3 separate regions of the Homo sapiens genome follow, and regions 1 and 3 are each linked to region 2. The links are contacts of gene promoters, found by promoter capture Hi-C in blood cells and fetal thymus (Javierre and others, 2016). All regions are on one chromosome and are shown on one strand. The core of a region is centred on a gene start or on the middle of the fragment in contact, and the rest is flanking DNA. Distances in the headings are between cores, read along the strand shown. Region 1 has its middle 14 kb from the start of ZNF135. Region 2 holds the start of ZNF667 (zinc finger protein 667). Region 3 has its middle 9.0 kb from the start of ZSCAN18.

Region 1 (3,154 bases), core at 299-2,798, 1.6 Mb before region 2:
CTTGGGCCCAGGAGTTTGAGACCAGCCTGGGCAACATAGCAAGACCTCATCTCTAAAAAAATTTAAAAGTTAACCAGGCATGGTGGCACATGCCTGTAGTCCCACCTACTCAGGAGGCTGAGGTGGGACAGATAGATCATTTGAGCCCAGGAGGTTGAAGCTACAGCCTTCGTGACAAAGCAAAACCCTACCTCAAAAAAAAAAAAAAAAAAAAAAAAAAAAAAGTCCAGAGGACTTGGGGTTTCCCTTCTTCTTTTTTTTTTTTTTTTTTGAGGCGGAGTTTCGCTCTTGTTGCCCAGGCTGGAGTGCAATTGTGCGAACTCGGCTCACTTCAACCTCTGCCTTCCGGTTTCAAGAGATTCTCCTGCCTCAGCCTCCCTAGTAGCTGGGAGTACAGGCACGTGCCACCATGCCCGGCTAATTTTGTGTTTTTAGTAGAGACGGGGTTTCTCCATGTTGGCCAGGCTGGTCTTGAACTCTCGACCTCAGGCAATCTGCCTGCCTTGGCCTCACAAAGTGCTGGGATTACAGGCTTGAGCCACTGCGCCCAGCCTGGGGTTTCCCTTCTTGGACCATTTTGTTTCTACATAACACTTACTGTGTAATGTGCCCATAACATCCTAATTTCTCTATTTTCCATTTCCCCACCAAAATATAAGCTCCTGAGACCACGAGTTTCATCAGTTTAGTTGCCAGAGTCTGGAATTGTGCCTGAGCTATAGTTGGTGCTTGGAAAATACTTGCTGCCTGAAAGAATCTCCCTCTCACATACAGTATAAGAGGAGACTCAGGAGGGACAGTGACTACCACACGTCAGTCCTACCCAGTGCTTCCACAAAACTTCCAACGGCCCTGGCTGTGTTAGTCTGTTTACACGGCTATAAAGGAATACCTGAGGATGGGTAATTTACAAAGAAAAGAGATTTATTTGGCTCACGGTTCTGCAGGCTGTACAGGAAGCATAGTGCTGGCATCTGCACTATGGGGAGGCCTCAGGAAGCTTCCAATCATGGCGGAAGGCAAAGGGGAGCTGGTGCATCATATAGTGAGAGAGAAAACAAGAGAGAGGGGAGGAAGTGCCAGGCTCCTTTAAATAACCATCTCTTGGGTGAACTCATAAAGGGAGAACTCACTCATTACCATGAGGACAGCACTAAGCCATTCATGTGGGATCCACCCCATAGCCCACATACCTCACACTAGGCCCCACCTCCAACACTGGGGATCACATTTCAACATGAGATTTGGAGGGGACAAATATCCAAACCATCGCACCAGCTTTCCTGACTTTTTTTCAGAAACACAATGGGAAGCCAAAGGATACTTAATTCTCTACTTTCTACGATTCTTCCACTCAAGATGCATTTTTGGCTGCCAGTCACCAGAAATCCAACTCAAAATTGTATACACTTTAGGATATTATTTACTTTTTTTTTTTTTAGAAACATGGTCTGGAGTGCAGTGGTGAAACCATACCTCACTGCAGCCTCAAATACCTGGGTTCAAGTGATAGTCCTGCCTTAGCCTACTGCGTAGCTGGGAGTACAGGCACACGCTACCATGACTGGCTAATTTTTTATCTGTTGTATAGATGGGGTCTCACTATGTTGCCCAGGCTGGTCTTGAACTCCTGGGTTCGAGCAAGCCTCCCAAAGTGCTGGGATTACAGGCATGAGCCACCACGCCCAGCTGAGGTTATTATTTATTTGCTGTGAAAGACCAGGATGCAAGGTCCAGGGTGGGGCCCCTGCTTGAATTGTAGATGAGTTTGGGCTTTGCTGTCTTCTCTGAGTTGACTCTGTACAGGATGGTCCTCTCTGTGCTTGCAGGTGGTAGGCAGCATACTTCTCCCTTTGCATCCAGAAAGAGACAGAACCTTTCCTTGCTAAAGAACCAGACCTTCCTCTCAGTCTCATGGCTGCACACCCAGAAACTGTGCTCACTGTGTTAGGCCGTTCTTGTGTTACTATCAAGAAATGCCTGAGATTGAGTAATTTATAAAAAAGAGAGGTTTAACAGGCTCATAGTTCTGCAGGCTGTACAGGAAGCAGGGCACTGGCATCTGCTCAGCTTCTGGGGAGGCCTCAGGAAGCTTTTACTCATGGTGGAAGGGGAAGTAGGAGCAGACATATCACATGGCCAGAGGAGGAGCAAGAGGCAGTGTGGAGTGGAGCGGCTGCCTGCACAGTTAAAAAAACAGACCTCAGGCTGGGTGCAGTGACTTGCTCCTGTAATCCCAGCACTTTGGGAGACCAAGGCGGGTGGATCACCTGAGGTCAGGAGTTTGAGACCAGCCTGGCCAACATGGTGAAACCTTGTCTCTACTAAAAATACAAAAATTAGCCAGGCACGGTGGCACACACCTGTAATCACAGCTACTTGGGAGGCTGAGGCAGGAGAATTACTTGAGCCCAGGAGGTGGAGGCTGCAGTGAGCCTTGATCATGCCATTGCACTCCGGCCTGGGCAACAGAGCTAGACTCTGTCTCAAAAAAAAAAAAAAGGCACATTCAAGGATGACTTTATGACTTTGGTCGGCTCCACCATGTGTGGGGCCTCAGCTGGGAACTTGAAGGCTGAGGTACCTTGAAAGCTGGGAGGCTGGAATCATCTGAAGACTGTTCTGTCACAGGCCTGATGAGGCTGGGGAGATTCAGACTAGGAGTGAACTGACACCCTGAGCAGAGCCTGTGTGGCTTCATCCTCACAGCATGGTGGCCTTGGGCCAGTGGGTTTCTCAAGTGGTGTCTCAGGGCTCCAAGCACAAGTGTTCCAGCAAAAAAAGACAGACGCTGTATGGCCTTTTCTGAACTAGCCTCAGAACTCTCCCTCATTCTTATTTCACCTGCATTCACCTGTTTTCCCACTTGATCTTCTACTTGTGTGCCAATAACTGAGGCGTAGTAAGCAAGGTCCTCTAGACTCAGGAGGGTGTAACCCCCACAGTGCCCTTCCACTGGCTTGGCACCATCAGGGAGAGGAATCTCATCTCTTTCCCTGGCTTAGGAGAGAAGTGATACTGTGGGCACCTCTCTGTAGTACCCAATCCTTGCTGTATTTCCCCTGTGTCGCTGAAGGAGGTCTGATGAAGAGGGGCTGAGTGGAGAGGAAAGAACTCACATTACCGTTTCTTGGTGATTATGCCAATCTAGCAC
Region 2 (2,796 bases), core at 194-2,693:
GATAGTATTTTAGGCTTTATGGGCCACAAGATCTCTGCTGCAAGTACTGAACCCTGCCATTGTGCAAAAGCAGTCATAGAATAGACGTAAATATACACAAGTATACATATTCAAAATGTGTGGTTCCCCACAGAGACGTACACACCGCAAAAACTGGGCTCTAGAGTCAACAGTAAATAGTTCAGGCTTTGTGGGGCCACACAGTACCTGTTCCCACCTACTCAACTCTGCCCTTCCGCAGAAGTGGATGCAGAAGCTAAACAAATGTCCAGAACATACACACATATTCAAAATCAGTGCCCCCCGCCACGTACAAAACCACAAAAATCGCCTCAGAGACACACGTATAAGAAAACACAAAGGTTCGTCCTCACACATGTTCAGGGTAACACAATGTGGGTCTCACCTACACAAACGCGCGATCAAAACCCGGGACCCGCACGCCCAGATGACCGGGACGAGGCCATACTTCACATCTTCTCTCACAGACTCACAATTACGCAACGGTCACCTCAAACGACTTTATGGCGGACACTCCCGGACCTTCCGCTGTCCGCCCCTCCTCGTCCCTTCTCCCCGCCGGGGTGAGCCTCATCCACCCAGTCTCAACCCCGACGCAGTCAGTCTCACTGCCAGCCCGCCGGCTACGCAGGCGCAACACCGCATGGAACAGCCCCCAGGGCGTGCAGGGGCCGTTGGGAAATGTAGTCCGAGCGCCACGCAAAGGACTGTGGGCCTCTTCGCAAAACGTGCAGGTGAGTCCCCACTGTTGGCCAAAAGAAACATCCCTCCGCTGCTCTCCCGGGTCAGTTCATCTCCGACCCGGACAGAGCAGAACCAGCGCAGCCCAAGCCTTCTTCACCTCACGTTCTGGGTGGGACTTTCCACAGCCTCGCTGCACCCCGGTGGATTCTGGAGGTCGCAGGATGACTGCGTAGTGCGCACGCGCGGGTGGGCGGTGTCCGCCTCCGCGGGTGAGGCCGGCTCCAAACCTCGTGAATGTGGGGGCGAAGGACGCTGGCTGGCTGGAGGCAATAAGCCCTCACACGGGAACGTGTGGTTGTGGGAGCGGGGAAGGCGGCGAATTGGGGAGGTTGGGTTTGGTTAAAGAGCTCGAGGAAGGGCCTCAGTGTCCACACGTGATCTCCTGAGAGGATGAAAAGCAGGGCCAGGCGCCAGTCCCCTAGGAGACCGGTGTGCGTGCCAGCCTCGGGGGTGTGCGCAGGCGCGGGACCTCGCGCGTCCGCCTGCACCAATCGTGCGAACGCGCTTGTGCGTGTGGCGCTGAGGGGTCGGGGCCTCAGGCCGGGGCTGGTGGTACTGTCCCCGAGAGGCGGGTGAGCGCACGCCGCGTGGCCTTGTTTGGGGGCGGGGCCACGCGCCCGCATGCGTGGTGCGTGTGTGAAGGGGGGTGCAGCGCGCGGTCCCGGGGTCCCGGAGGGGAGTGCGCAGGCGCTGAGTCCCTGCTCGGCTGTCTCGGTGGTCGCCGCCGGGGTCTGAGCCCGGGAAGACCGAGGTAAGGGGGCTGGCGAGAGTGTGGGTGTGTCTGAGGGCGTGGGCGGCGCGCCCGCCACTGCGTGGACGTTCCTGCCAAGGCGCGCGTGGGTTTGCGCATCCACGATGGCGTGGGCGTCTGCGCGGGTGCTTGCGTGGGCGGTGGGCTCGCGCCTGCGTGGGTTCTCGGCCCGCCACGGCGTGGGGTTTGCGCCCTTCGCTGCTGTGGTTCTCGGGGCTTGTGCGCCCAAGTGTGAAGTTGGCGCCGCGTGTGAGGCGAGCCGTGTGTGCCTGTGTGTGAGGGAGCTATGTCGGGACCGCGGATGTGTATCGCTGCGTGACCCACGCGAAGGAAACAATGGAGCCATTGGGAAGCCGGGAGTGGGTGTGTGACGCTGACTGTGAAGATTTGTGTTTCTGGAGTGTGTGCGTGTGTCAGTGTCAGGCTGATGTGGGCGTTTATTGTAGCCTTGGGTTACTGTGTGACTTGCCTGGGCGTCTGTCTGCCACTTAGCGTCAGTGGCTTTGCGGTTATGAGTGTGTGACTGTGCCTTTCTGGTGTATATCTCACTGTAACCATGGAAATGGAGGCCCACAGGGGAAGAATTCTTAGCAGCTCTAAGATGTGATGGGCTGCCCTGGAAATCTGTGGAACTGTTTAATTGTGCATGACTTTCCTCCTTGGTAAAATAGCATATTAATAGCACCTGCCTGGGTGTTATTGGGAAGATTAAATGGGATGACGTAGCTGAAACACCCTGCACAGAGCTTGTCACATACTAATCACCGTGTTTAGGTGTTGGTTATGGTGCTGGTGGTCGTTTTTCTTTGACCCTATACAGAGGCAGAGGTAGTGGTGAATACTGGAGGACTTTGCATCTCTGAGCTTCGGACTGGGCTATCTTTGTCCACATACCAGGGCATCTGACCATCTCCAGTTGAGCAGTGGTGCGCTGCCCCCGCCAACCACCTGCGTCGTCAGTTTTCTGCATGTGTACATTTGAGTGGAGGACAGAGCCCTCCACTGACGCTAAGTATGGTTGTGTCCCCTTCCTACCAAGGTAGCTTGGAAAAATAAGAGCATGGACTGTGGCGCCCCGCTGTCTGGTGTTGACTCCTGGTTTCACCACTGGCTGGCTGTGTGACTGAGAGAGCTTACTTAAGTCCACCACTCCTCGGTTCACTTGTAAAACAGTAGTAATAACAGAACCAACCTCAGGTTTATGGTGAGCATAAGTAGAACTTGGCACAAGGAAGTGCCACATCAATGATCATCGTTTTATTATTAGCATAATAACCGCA
Region 3 (3,208 bases), core at 226-2,725, 1.6 Mb before region 2:
AGCCTTCAAAATGTAACGAAGGTGGTAACTCCTTCAGCCTTTCTACACACCTTAGTGAACAACATGTAATTGCCAGAGAAAGGAACAACACAAAGGAGAAGGACACGAGGAGGTGTTTGATAGGGACACATGTCCTTATGAACACAATGGAAGTATCTCTGGAAATGAATACAATGACAGTGAATGTGGACTGTCCGTTAGACCGAAATCTCATTTCATCAGTCACCAGAGGACTCATACTGGAGAGAGCCCTTATACCTGTAATGACTGTGGAAAATCCCTCTCTAAGAATTACAACCTGATTGTACATCAAAAAATCCACACAGGAGAGAAATCCTATAAATGCAAGAAGTGGGAAAGCCTTCAGTGCTGGCTCCACCTTTACCAAGCATGAGAAAACCCACATAGGAAAGAAGCCCTGTGAAAGGAATTGGTATGGGAAGACCTTCAGCTGCCACTCTTCCCTTGTTTTGCATTTCAGAAGTCATACTGTGGAAAAACTATTCGAATGTAATGAATGTGAAAAATCCTTTTCTGATGTCTCCAACCTTATTGTCCATCTGAGAATTCACATGTGAGGGGAGCCCTATGTATGTACTGGGTGTAGAAAGGCCTTCATTGATCACACATAACTTATTAAACATGGGAGAATTCACATTGGAAAGAGACCCTATATGTGTATGGAGTGTGAAAAATTCTCCAACCACAACAGTCAGCTCTTTTGCATCAAAAAAATCATTCTGGAAAGAAATCTCATGAGTTAAACAATGTGAAAAAATCTTTCACTGAGATTATGTACCTCATCAGGCACAAGAGGATTCATACTGGTGAGAAGGTCTGTGGCTGTAACCAGTGTCAAACTTTTCAGGAACATCGCGGGCCTCATCTGGCACCAGAGGACTCATACTGGTGAGAAGCCCTACGAGTGTAATCGGTGTGGCAAAGCCTTCAGGGACAGCTCCTGTCTGACCAAGCACAAGAAGGTACATGCTCAGGCGACCTTGTGCCAGTGTGTCTAGTGTGGGAAAGTTTTCCCAAGTATCTGTGCTCTCGCTAGAAACCAGAGTTGACACATTGGACTGAGACCTATGGGGATTCAGTGAGCATCTGTGGCAGTGACTGATCTGATTTTCTTTGCCTCCTCTTTGTCAGAGACTTCATGTTGAAGAGTTTATGTTGTTTGAAAGTAACAAATATGTTTTTCCATCTATAAATGGAAGAAAAAATCCTGGATGACAGCACATGTGTTTACCGCATGGTGCACTCAATATTTTATTTTATTTTTGAGACAGAGTTTCACTCTTGTCACCCAGGCTGCAGTGCAGTAGTGTGATCTCAGCTCCCTGCAGCCTCTGCCTCTTGGGTTCAAGCGATTCTCCTTCCTCAAACTCCTGAGCAAGTAGCTGGGATTACAGGTACCCACCATCACACTAATTGTTTTGTATTTTTTTTAGTAGAGATAGGGTTTCACCATGTTGGTCAGGCTGGTCTTGAACTCCTGACCTGAAGTGATCTGCCCACCTTGGCCTCCCAAAAGTGATGAGATTACAGGCATGAGCCACCATGCCCGGCCTGTGCTGAATATTTTAAACCCACTGTTGAGACTTCCTCAGAATAAAGATTCCTTTCAAAATATGGCTGCTTGTTGACAAGAGCTGTGATGAAGATGTACAGGGAGATGAATGTTGTTCTCACACCTGCTAACACAACATGTATTCTGCAGCCCATCATAGATCAGGAGTAATTTTGACTTTCCAGTCTCATTATTCAAGAACAGATGTCTTGGCCAGGCACGGTGGCTCACGCCTGTAATCCCAGCACTTTGGGAGGCCAAGGTGGGCAGATCACGAGGTCAGGATTTCGAGACAAGCCTGACCAACATGCTGAAACCTCATCTCTACTAAAAATACAAAAAAAAATTAGCCAGGCGTGATGGTGCACACCTGTAATCCCAGCTACTCAGGAGACTGAGGCAGGAGAATTGCCTGAAGCTGGGAGGCAGAGGTTGCAGTGAGCAGAGATCGAGCCACTGCACTGCAGCCTGGGAAACAGAAGGAGGCTCCATTTCAAAAAAAAACAAAAAAACAAAAAAAACAGATGTCTTTTTTTCTTTCTTTCTTTTTTTTTTTTTTTTTTTTTTTTTGAGACGGAGTCTCGCTCTGTCGCCCAGGCTGGAGTGCAGTGGCGGGATCTCGGCTCACTGCAAGCTCCGCCTCCCGGGTTCACGCCATTCTCCTGCCTCAGCCTCCCAAGTAGCTGGGACTACAGGCGCCCGCCACTACGCCCGGCTAATTTTTTTTGTATTTTTAGTAGAGACGGGGTTTCACCGTTTTAGCCGGGATGGTCTCGATCTCCTGACCTCGTGATCCGCCCGCCTCGGCCTCCCAAAGTGCTGGGATTACAGGCGTGAGCCACCGCGCCCAGCCAGATGTCTTTTTTTCTTTTGAGACATGGTCTCATTCTGTTGCCCAGGTTGGAGTGCAGTGCTGCAACCATGGCTCGCTGCAGCCTCGACCTCTAGGCTCAAGTTGTCCTCTCACCTTAGCCTCCTACATAGCTGGAACTACCAGCATGCACCACCACGCCTGGCTAATTTTTTTTATGTTTTGTAGAGACGGCATCTCACCATATTGCTCAAGCTGGTCTTGAACTCCTGTGCCGAAGTGATCCTCTTGCCTCATCCTGACAAAGTGCTAGTATTACAGGTGTGAGCCATTGTGCCTGGCCTAGAATGCTCTTAATGGCATCTAGCATAGTGAATCATTTCCAGAAGGTTTTTAATTTACTTTCCCTGGATCCATCCAAGGAATCATTACTATCTATGGCAGCTATAGCCTTACAAAATACATACCTTTTTTTTTCTTTTTTGATAAGGATTCTCACTCTGTTGCCTCGGCTAGAGTGCAGTGGCGCGATCTCAGCTCACTGCAGCCTCTGCCACCTGGGTTCAGGCGATCCTGATGCCTCAGCCTCTTGAGTAGCTGGGACTACAGGCATGTACCACTATGGCCGGCTAATTTTTTATTTTTAGTAGAGATAGGGTTTCACCATGTTGGCCAGGCTAGTCTTAAACTCCTAAGCTCAAGTAATCCACCTGCTTCAACCTCCCAAAGTGCTGGGAATACAGGCATGAGCCACCACGCATAGCTGCAAACTGCATTCTTCTTTTTTATTTTTTATTTTTTTGAGACGGAGTCTCACTCTGTTG

Evidence for each region. The method cuts DNA at HindIII sites, captures the fragments that hold promoters and counts their contacts. A CHiCAGO score of 5 or more calls a contact.
Region 1: a contact is called between a fragment that was not itself captured here and the fragment with the promoter of ZNF667 in region 2, in 2 of 17 cell types (activated CD4 T cells and naive CD8 T cells). The highest score is 6.4, in activated CD4 T cells.
Region 3: a fragment that was not itself captured here is called in contact with the fragment with the promoter of ZNF667 in region 2 in 1 of 17 cell types (erythroblasts); the score reaches 6.9 in erythroblasts.

The regions. Positions count from the first base shown.
Region 1 is chr19:58,071,768-58,074,921 of GRCh38, reverse strand. No RefSeq gene overlaps it. Among named protein-coding and RNA genes, the nearest start is that of ZNF135, 14 kb to the right of the region's middle. The HindIII fragment of the contact is 1,092 bases long and covers 1,003-2,094 here.
Region 2 is chr19:56,475,992-56,478,787 of GRCh38, reverse strand. ZNF667 (zinc finger protein 667) reads left to right here and starts at 1,443. Exons shown (of 7, transcript NM_001321356.2): 1 at 1,443-1,516. It overlaps ZNF667-AS1 (ZNF667 antisense RNA 1), which reads right to left and starts at 914. Exons shown (of 2, transcript NR_036521.1): 1 at 407-914. The HindIII fragment of the contact is 7,484 bases long and covers 1-2,796 here.
Region 3 is chr19:58,105,639-58,108,846 of GRCh38, reverse strand. It overlaps a transcript of ZSCAN18 not described here. Among named protein-coding and RNA genes, the nearest start is that of ZSCAN18, 9.0 kb to the right of the region's middle. The HindIII fragment of the contact is 4,764 bases long and covers 1-3,208 here.